Regions from separate parts of the Homo sapiens genome. Here region 1 is linked to region 2. Evidence: promoter capture Hi-C in 16 types of primary human blood cells and fetal thymus (Javierre and others, 2016). All regions are on one chromosome and are shown on one strand. Each heading gives the region's core, a stretch centred on a gene start or on the middle of the fragment in contact. The rest is flanking DNA. Distances are from core to core; before and after follow the strand shown. Region 1 holds the start of RNF20 (ring finger protein 20). Region 2 holds the start of UBQLN1 (ubiquilin 1).

What was found. Contacts are between HindIII fragments. The CHiCAGO score rates a contact against its expected background, and 5 or more counts as called.
Region 1: the fragment with the promoter of RNF20 here is called in contact with the fragment with the promoter of UBQLN1 in region 2 in 2 of 17 cell types (total CD4 T cells and total B cells); the score reaches 6.6 in total CD4 T cells.

Annotation. Positions count from the first base shown.
Region 1 is chr9:101,531,870-101,536,318 of GRCh38, reverse strand. RNF20 (ring finger protein 20) reads right to left here and starts at 2,466. Exons shown (of 20, transcript NM_019592.7): 1 at 2,405-2,466; 2 at 767-921. The coding sequence starts at 895. It also overlaps a transcript of PGAP4 not described here. RefSeq lists an enhancer at 2,595-2,724. The HindIII fragment of the contact is 1,893 bases long and covers 695-2,587 here.
Region 2 is chr9:83,705,970-83,710,469 of GRCh38, reverse strand. UBQLN1 (ubiquilin 1) reads left to right here and starts at 2,512. Exons shown (of 11, transcript NM_013438.5): 1 at 2,512-2,970. The coding sequence starts at 2,791. UBQLN1-AS1 (UBQLN1 antisense RNA 1) reads right to left here and starts at 2,635. Exons shown (of 2, transcript NR_135839.1): 1 at 2,158-2,635. RefSeq lists enhancers at 1,710-2,598, 2,762-2,831, 2,599-3,489. The HindIII fragment of the contact is 7,028 bases long and covers 1-4,500 here.

The sequences.
Region 1 (4,449 bases), core at 1,217-3,716, about 18 Mb before region 2:
CCCATGTCTGATTTTCAAAAAAGCAAAATCTTGACGTAGATCAAAACCTGTAAACTTCTGATGTCTAACAGATATATAACATTACTATGAGATTTTGGTATATAATACTCATTTTGTCAGCTCCATAAGAGCAAGGATAATATCTATGTTATGCACCATTATATTATCTAGCCCAATATTAGCTATGAATGCCTCCCATTTATTGACTATTTACTATATTAAATGCAAAGTGTTAGCCCTTAACAGGGACTCTTATTTTATATGCATAAAAATCTAATGTAGCAGGTACTCTAATTACATTTTACAGACAAGAAAACAGGCAAAGGAAGGATAACACAAGGTCAGCCAGCTAGGAAGTGGTACAGCTCAGAGTCAACTCCAGGCAATCTGGTCTCAGACTCTCACTCTTCACCATACTCTCAATGATTGCTAAACTGTCTCTTAGAATCTGGTACTGACTTTTTCAGTGAATGAAAAATAAATGTGTATCTTCCCACTGCTAAATACCTATAGTTAATGTTGTATCAGGCACCACCTTCCCAGATTCTCGAAAGAATATAAGTACACCTTGAAAACAAAGAACAACTATCAATCTACCTCTCCTCTAGAACTGACTACCACATCATTTTACCTACTTTCAGCCTGTTTTATTTCCCTCTTCTTTTCAAATAGCTTCCCCATACTCCAGAAAGCTTCCATGAATTTTTAGTTTCAAGTTGCAACTGACAGAAGACAAGCACACTTTCATGGCACTGTTTCCTCATACCGTTGAAGAGACACCTCCTAGCTTAATTGTTTCCACTGTGGTCCCTGAATCTTCAACAGCTGCCTTCTTCTCAGGAGGCATGGAGGTGCCAGGTTCTCCAGCTGCTCTTTTATTTCCAATTCCTGACATTTTGGCAGAAGAAGACAGTCGTTTTCCTGATAGAAAAAAAGGCAGAAACTGACATAATATATGTAAGCAAAGCAACAATAGAGTAAAACAATAGAGTAAAAACTAGCAACTTTTCTGGCCAACCCTTTAACCTGGATCCATTAATTCCACAACCATCTCCATATTTCTCTTTGAGGAAAAAAAAAAAAAATTAAATTGTAGAGTAAAAGTCAAGGCGGGCCGGGCGCGGTGGCTCATGTCTGTAATCCCAGCACTTTGGGAGGCCGAGGCGGGCGGATCAAGAGGTCAGAAGATCGAGACCATCCTGCCTAACACGGTGAAACCCCGTCTCTACTAAAAATACAAAAAATTAGCCAGGCGTGGTGGCGGGCGCCGGTAGTCCCAGCTACTCGGGAGGCTAAGGCAGGAGAATCACTTGAACCCGGGAGGCGGAGCTTGCAGTGAGCCGAGATCGCACCACAGCACTCCAGCCTGGGCAACAGAGCGGGACTCCGTCTCAAAAAAAAAAAAAAAAGAAAGTCAAGGCTAAATTTACATGACTATAAATTTCTAAATAGGATGGTGATAAGAATGGTGATAAGAAATGAGACAATGGGCAAAGGGTGAAGAGACCAAAAATAAAGTTCTGGAATCTCTCTTCCTGTAATGCCAAAATCAGAAAAGGGCAGTTTGATTATGCCAGAAGTTAATACTACAGTGTTGAAAGAATCACAGAGCTGAAAGAGATCTGTGAAATGCCTACTAAAGTCATTAGTACTAGACAAGTCAGTTATCATCTCTAAGCCTCAGTTTCCTAACCCAGGAATAAATAACCACAGTATATACTTCCTATGCTTATTATAAAATAAAATGGATGATATAATTATAGAAAGAATTTGGCACAAAGCCGAACACAAAGTAAGCACTCAGAAACCCCAGCTCTTCTTTAACGTTTGCAGTGTTTTCCCTATTTCCAAACGCTCTCTCCACTGTTTTATGCAACCCTACGTTAGTTAGACCTGGGTGCGAATTTCAGTTCTGCCTGTTAGAGGCCGTGTTGCTTTGAAACAGTGAATTCGCCAAGAGCTTCAGTTTCCTCAACTGCACAATATTAACGAATATATTTTTCGTCTGCCCTGCCTACCTCCCAGGGTGCTCAAAGGAGGCGGAATGGATGCTAAAGCACTTTGGCTACTTCAGGAAACAACGCAGCCATCACCGAGACTAACAAGACTACTCTGCTTCCAATTCAAGCTCCAGGAGAGGACTATCGCTGGCAACAACCTCAGTAGGACCTCGCCTGGAGAGAGAAGACACAGAAGCAGAACAAGGCTGCAATCCAACTCGCTAAAAGCCAAAGACCTCAGCCTCAGCGTGGATAATTGCAGGCCCAGGAGACTGACGGCCCCAAAACTGGAGAGGGTGGAGACTCCTGAGGCCTGGCACAGTCCTGTTGGGCCCTAAGCGTGATCTAACCTAAGTTCTTTGAACTGGCGCCGCGCGGGAACAGAACTCGCAGCAGTTACTCACCAAGGCCCGTGCAGAGATTCCAGCTCTCACCCCTGACCCGCGGCGGAGACAAGGCAGAACTTCCGGGAGGCGGGGCCACGGAGAGGAAAAAGGGAAAGAAAAAAGGAAGTGGCTTCAACCCAGCCCATAGGACTATGAGACCCCGCCGGGCGGAAGTGACGTACGGAGAGGGCACGAGAAGCTTGAGCAAGCGCCGCCTCCCTAGCAACGCTGGGCAAGCGCGGGACCCTCTCCTGGCTACGACCTCTAAGAGTACTCGGGCCTCGCTGATGCCTGACGGAGAGCCCTTGGCTTTTGTTGACTTGTTGACCTTTGCTACTGCGATCTGGTCTTTCTGCGGGGATAAAGTTCCTCATTCTGTTGCTTGTCATTGGGGTTGCCATCACTCGTTCAGACGGCCGATTGGCTGACGGTCCCGTCAATCTCCGGGGACATGACTAGCCTCAGACACCTCAGAAAATTGTTCGTTGGTACCCCTACGTGCTGAAATGAAGAGTTCTGGAGAGAATCTGAGGGATTTGAGGAATTTCAGATGTTGGGGATTTTTTCCCCCGCACAGGGAGCGGTATTCTGCCCTGTCTACACATTAGAATCACTTGGCCTGGACAAAAGCTTTTTTAAAAAAGCGTTCCCCTCATCTCCTCCCCCCAAACCCCGCATTTCCATCCACTAGATTCTAATGCGTAAGCAGGAGTGACAACTACTGCCCTTGTGCTTTTTTGGGAACAAGAAATTGTCCAGGGAAAAGATAAACGCCAATCAGTCTCTGATCTCAGTACTAGTCTATTTTAAGCTAATTAAGCATTGATTTTTTTTTTTAAGTTTATGACAAACTGCTATTTTCCATTCAGTTAAACTAAATGCGTTTTAATGATAGGACGGTAATTAATCTAACCTATTAATGAAAAGCTGTATGTCTCGCAGAACTATGATAAACTACCTAATGACGTCAGCTAAGGGTCTAGAAATGGAAGAATGATCGCTATATCTTTTTTAAAAAATAGAATTTAGGCATCTTGGGAAAAAAAGAAGCTAATCTACACTGGATTTCTGTTAGTGTGAAGACTTTTGTCCCTGTACCTGCTAGGGCTTACCTGTAAATGAAGTAAGATGGTCAACACCAGGGAAACAAGTGTTCCTGGTGCCTGGCAGTGGAACACCTTGACTATCTTGGAAAGAATTAACTGGCCCCAAGTGGACTTCACATTTCATTCCGTGAAGTGGGAGCCTGAGAACATGTGAGTGGGGACACACCTGCCGAAAAGCATTGTATGAGACAATGACACTCATTCTCTCATCTTCTTTGGTTCCTCTACTCTTAGCAAGCCTTTCATTCATAGAACTACTGAATGGCAAGTAATGGTTTTTCTAGCCCAGAAAACTAGAGGTTCACAGACTGCATTTAGCCAACAGTTATGCTTTGTTTATTTTAGACAGTATTGGCTGTCCTGCGTGGTTAAAAACAAGAACAAAAATGAACTTAGTTGCCAACATTTAAAATATGGCTATTTTACATAAAAATCCAAATTATCAGTTTCTCTAAAAAATGTTGATGATCTTGCAACAGAAGGGTTATATTTTTGCATGGTCACATTGCTTAGAGCAAAGTAGTGGCTTCTTCTTTTTTTTTTTTTTTCTTTTTTTCGAGACAGAGTCTTACTCTGTCACCCAGGCTGGAGTGCAGTGGCACAATCTCGGCTCACTGCAAACTCCACCTCACAGGTTCAAGCAATTCCCATGCCTCAGCCTCCCAAGTGGGTGGGATCACAGGCACACGCCACCACACCTGGCTAATTTTTGTATTTTTAGTAGAGATGGGGTTTCGCCATGTTGGCTAGGCCGGTCTCAAACTCCTGACCTCGGACGATCCATCCACCTCAGCCTCCCAAAGTGCTGAGATTACAGGCCTGAGCCACAGCTACTGGCAATGAGCCACCACGCTTGGCGTGGCTCTCTTTTATTAATAGATCATGTTATTCTTGTTTACCATAATCCCCACTAATCTTTACTGGTTCCTTAGCACTAGTATAGTTTAATTTGAGTAT
Region 2 (4,500 bases), core at 1,263-3,762:
GAGGGCTTACTGGTAAAATTTCACGTGTTTTGTGAGGCAGAGGATCTCAAGTTGGTAACCATTTGCAAGTATTTACATCAAGGAAATTGGCAAATGTAATAAAGTTTATTTTCAGGAGGACTGGTTATTAGTCATTTACCAGGACATCACTGCCAGTCTCCCTCCTATCCCTCACCCCCATCATCCAACTATCACTTCAAGTTTTTTGACGGCAGAAACTGAGTCTTATTATTCTTGTATGCTCAATATAGTATTATACAGTATTAGGATACTGTGATAAAATATGTTCTTAAAATTTTCTCCAGACAGACCATTTAACAAACAAAAACCATTCAGAAGAAAATGCCACAAATAAACATCTAGACCTGGGGTTGGCAAACTATCTTCTGTAGGCCAAATCAGATCCTATGTCTGTTTTTGTTTTGCAAGTAGAGTTTTTAGTAAACATAGCTATGATTATTCATGTATGTATTGTCTATGATTACTCTGTGATACAAGGGCATAGCTTAGTGTTTTAGACCGAGATCCTGTGGCTCACAAAGCCTAAAATATTAGGTTGATGCATAAATAATTGCGGTTTTTGCAAATTTTTTTTTTTGGCACCAACCAAATATTTACTATCTAGCCCTCCCAGAAAGTTCACTAATCTCTGATTTACACCATAGTGCCCCCACCTCCGATTCTCATGCAGGTCAGGATTATATCTAAAAAGTGCCATAACAATGGATAACTATATGGTATCTTCTTACAGGTAAATCTTATTACCTTATAGTGTCACACACATCAAACATTTTTAGACAATAATGTAGACACAGATAATTGCAAAGTCCATAAATGCAGGGAGACAGACACACACACACACACACACACACACACACACACGGTATTTGTTGGAGAATCAAGGGAAAAACCATATCTCTAAATGGTAGGGAGTGAAGTCTTCCTGGGGCATGTGATACAGGATGAGTAGAAGTTAGACAGGTGAAGGCAAGGGGAAAGTCATTCTAGGTAGAGGAAGGCAGCCTAGGCAAAGCATGCAGGTAAGACACAGCATGACAGGGAAAAACAGGTAATGAGGAGCTAATGAAGTTGAGGAGAAATTTTATTTAGACATATGGAAGAAATTCCAAATGATTGGTTGTCCAGTTGTGGCACTTTCTAGCTTTAGAAGCAGTGATCATCTCACACCTGGACATAACCAAGTAGTCATCCTTCATTAAGCAGAAGGCCTTGTTATTGAGCCATGCTGCCAGAAATTTAGGTGATATCAAATGATGTCTATACTGAAATCGATACCCTCAGGATTCTCTTAGACCCAGATTCCATAGAGCTCTGCTAAAAAGTCGTGTTTATGTAACAGTATTTATTCTCAGAACAGGGTTGGACGGCTTAGGAGCAGAAAGGCAGAATGTATCTTTGCGGATTTGGGTCATAGTGGGCTGTCAGGATTTAAATTGTGCAACATTGATTAATAATGGGCTGGTTTGTACATTCCTTGCAAGTCATCTTTAAAAGCCAATGACGTCATTTCAAATTAGGATTCTCAGAGATAATTTCTCTCTGTATTACACTGAAAATAATTTTGGAACTATCCTTAATGCCACTTAAAGCCTGAAATTGACCAGTAACTTAATTTGATAGAATATAAGGCGAACACCTCAACTATATTAAATTGTCCCATTTGGGTGGACACTCCTCGGGCACCCTGTTCCGCCCTACACACAGATAATCTGGGGGCGCTCGCGCACAGCTGTCATCGTAGCAGCAGAGGCCACTGTCAATACAGGTTGCCTGACTGATCGTCTGACCAAACCGGGCTAACCCGAGGGCGGTAAATAAGCTCTGGCCATGAAGCAATGACTCCGCAGGATTGCGCAGGGCAGTCACGGGCGTTCACTCCATTTTCTGTTCGTTGTGCTGAGGCCTTTCCACCATTAACTTACCCCAACTCCCCCGCATAGGGCAATACGACCCCTCCAAATATCAAACGCTAAGCATATTAAAATAACAAAATACCTCGCCGCTATTTTATCACCAGACCCTCCTCCCAGCGGGGAACGCAGAGTAGACAGAGAGGCAAGGGAGGGCAAGGCGATTGTGACAGCGCGGAGGGGTGAACACGGCCCAGCTGGGCATGAGGTAAGGTGGGGAGACTACCTGGACAGCAAGCGCGCAGGCGCAGCCGCGGCCGCAGGGCCCACTGGTCCCTTTCTAGTAATTTCGCTAACCGTGACGTCATCTCGGTGCGCCGTTACAGCGCTTAACTGGAAACTGCGATTTAGTTTTTGGTGAAAGGAGTGGAAAAAAACCATGAACTGACCTACCCCGCCCCATTTTGCTTTTAGTCCTTCACACTGGCTTCGCCTGCACTTTGGGCAATGGAGCGGGAAAGGAAAAGGCACGCAGGCTGAGCTCAAAGTCGCGCCAGCCGGGGATGACTCGGCGACGCCGCCAGGCGCGTTACCCGGCGTGCTCCGCGCGGCGCCGGCGAAGGGACGTGGGGGAAGGGGCAGGGAGGAGGAAGCGGTGGCTGCTGCGGATGTCGGTGTGAGCGAGCGGCGCCTGAACACACGGCGGCTGCCGAGCGCCTGACCCGGGCCTGCGCCAGAGCCTGCACCGAGCTCCGGGGCCCCACACCCGCTACGGTGGCCCTGCGCCCGTTGCTACTGAGGCGGCGTGCTCTGCATTCTTCGCTGTCCAGGCCTGCCGGCTCTGGTGTCTGCTGGCTCCTCCTTGCTCGCCTGCTCCCTCCTGCTTGCCTGAGTCACCGCCGCCGCCGCCGCCACAGCCATGGCCGAGAGTGGTGAAAGCGGCGGTCCTCCGGGCTCCCAGGATAGCGCCGCCGGAGCCGAAGGTGCTGGCGCCCCCGCGGCCGCTGCCTCCGCGGAGCCCAAAATCATGAAAGTCACCGTGAAGACCCCGAAGGAAAAGGAGGAATTCGCCGTGCCCGAGAATAGCTCCGTCCAGCAGGTGAGGCCGCCTGGGGCTCGGGCCGGGATGGGGGTGGCGGCAGGACCTCCGCCCGCCGCCCCAGGAGACCTTTTGGAAGGGCCTGGGAGAGGGGTCGTCCTCGGCCATTCTCCCGGGCGTCGTCCCAAATTAGATCACACCCAAGTTCGTGGGTTTGCGCCTTGGGACACCGCAATGGTTTGTGGCGTGGCGGCGCGGCCTGTTTGTGGGACGGGCTGATGCCGCTTTTCTCGGAGCCTTCCTTCTCTGGTATCCGCCGACCCTCAGCCTCCTCCCCCAGTTCCCCGCCCTCCGTCGCCTCCCCTCCAACTCCTCACAAAGGAAAGGGACCCACCGCCAGCCTCCGGGCGGGGTGGAGGCTGGGCGGGGGCGAGGGTTCGCTTTAGCTCAGGCTGCGGTTTTGTTTCATGAATTAAAAAGGGGTGGGTGGGATCCTCGTTGTTTTACGTGCCTGCTTGTTAAGGTGGGTTTTGGGGTGAGGTGCATGTGTATATTTAGTTCTGCATTTTAACTCCTGAAATCTTTCCCACCTTGCAACCTTTAAAAAAAAATTATGACGTAGAAACTGTTTTTAGCTCCATCTTAAGTAATAGTGATAGTACTAGGTTTAAGGAGAAAAGTGAATGACTTTCTTTCACTGATGACTTGCTCTTTCCCTTTTAGTATGTTTATCATCTCTTAGATGCCAATCATTGGGTAGGTTTTTGTTTGATTTTAGAGGGGCGATAGCGATGTTGATATTAGCGGTTGCAATCAAATAAAAGAAAATCGGAGTGAATGCAGAATATTACTTAAACTTGGTTCAGGAATACAAATCTTGCAGTTAATTAAGATTCTTGGTGGAATTTAACAAATAATTTTAGTGTATTGTTGAATACGTCGTGTTTTCCATAATTACTGACTTAATCTCTGAAGATCGCAAACAACGTGAACAGTTGGTGACAGGAAACAACAATTCCTGAAATGTACCTATCAGTTTCCCCAGGGACAGTAGGTGATTGGGGTATTGGTTTAACGAGTTCCAAAGGTAGTGTATTTTGTGAAGCAGTGAGGTGTGTAACATCAAATGAGAGAAACTTTTACCACCAACAGAATTATCACTTTTGTTTTTGTCTCCCAGTGCTTGTAAAAATTTTCCTTACCATTTTTGTATTTTCAAGCATGCGGAAAGTTGAAAGAATTGGGAAGTGGATACACATATGTCCATCATCTACAATTAGCATTTTACGGTATTATAATCGATTATCAAGTTCATTTAATTTTGGGGAGCAATTCAGAGTAAGTTGCACGTATCAGTAGATGACACCAGTACATGTCACTTCAGCATTGTGAACTTATTTGCCTAAGTTCAACTTCATTTTTTACGTTTTTTTGACGTAATTTTGGCAGCAGTGAAATGCATATGGTTGCCATTCCGTGAGTTTTCATAAATGCTTACACCTGTGTAGCCCAAGCTCTTATCAAGATATAGAACATTATAATTGACTAGAAAGTTTTTTCTTGCCTTTTCCCAGTCATTTCAGTCACTTG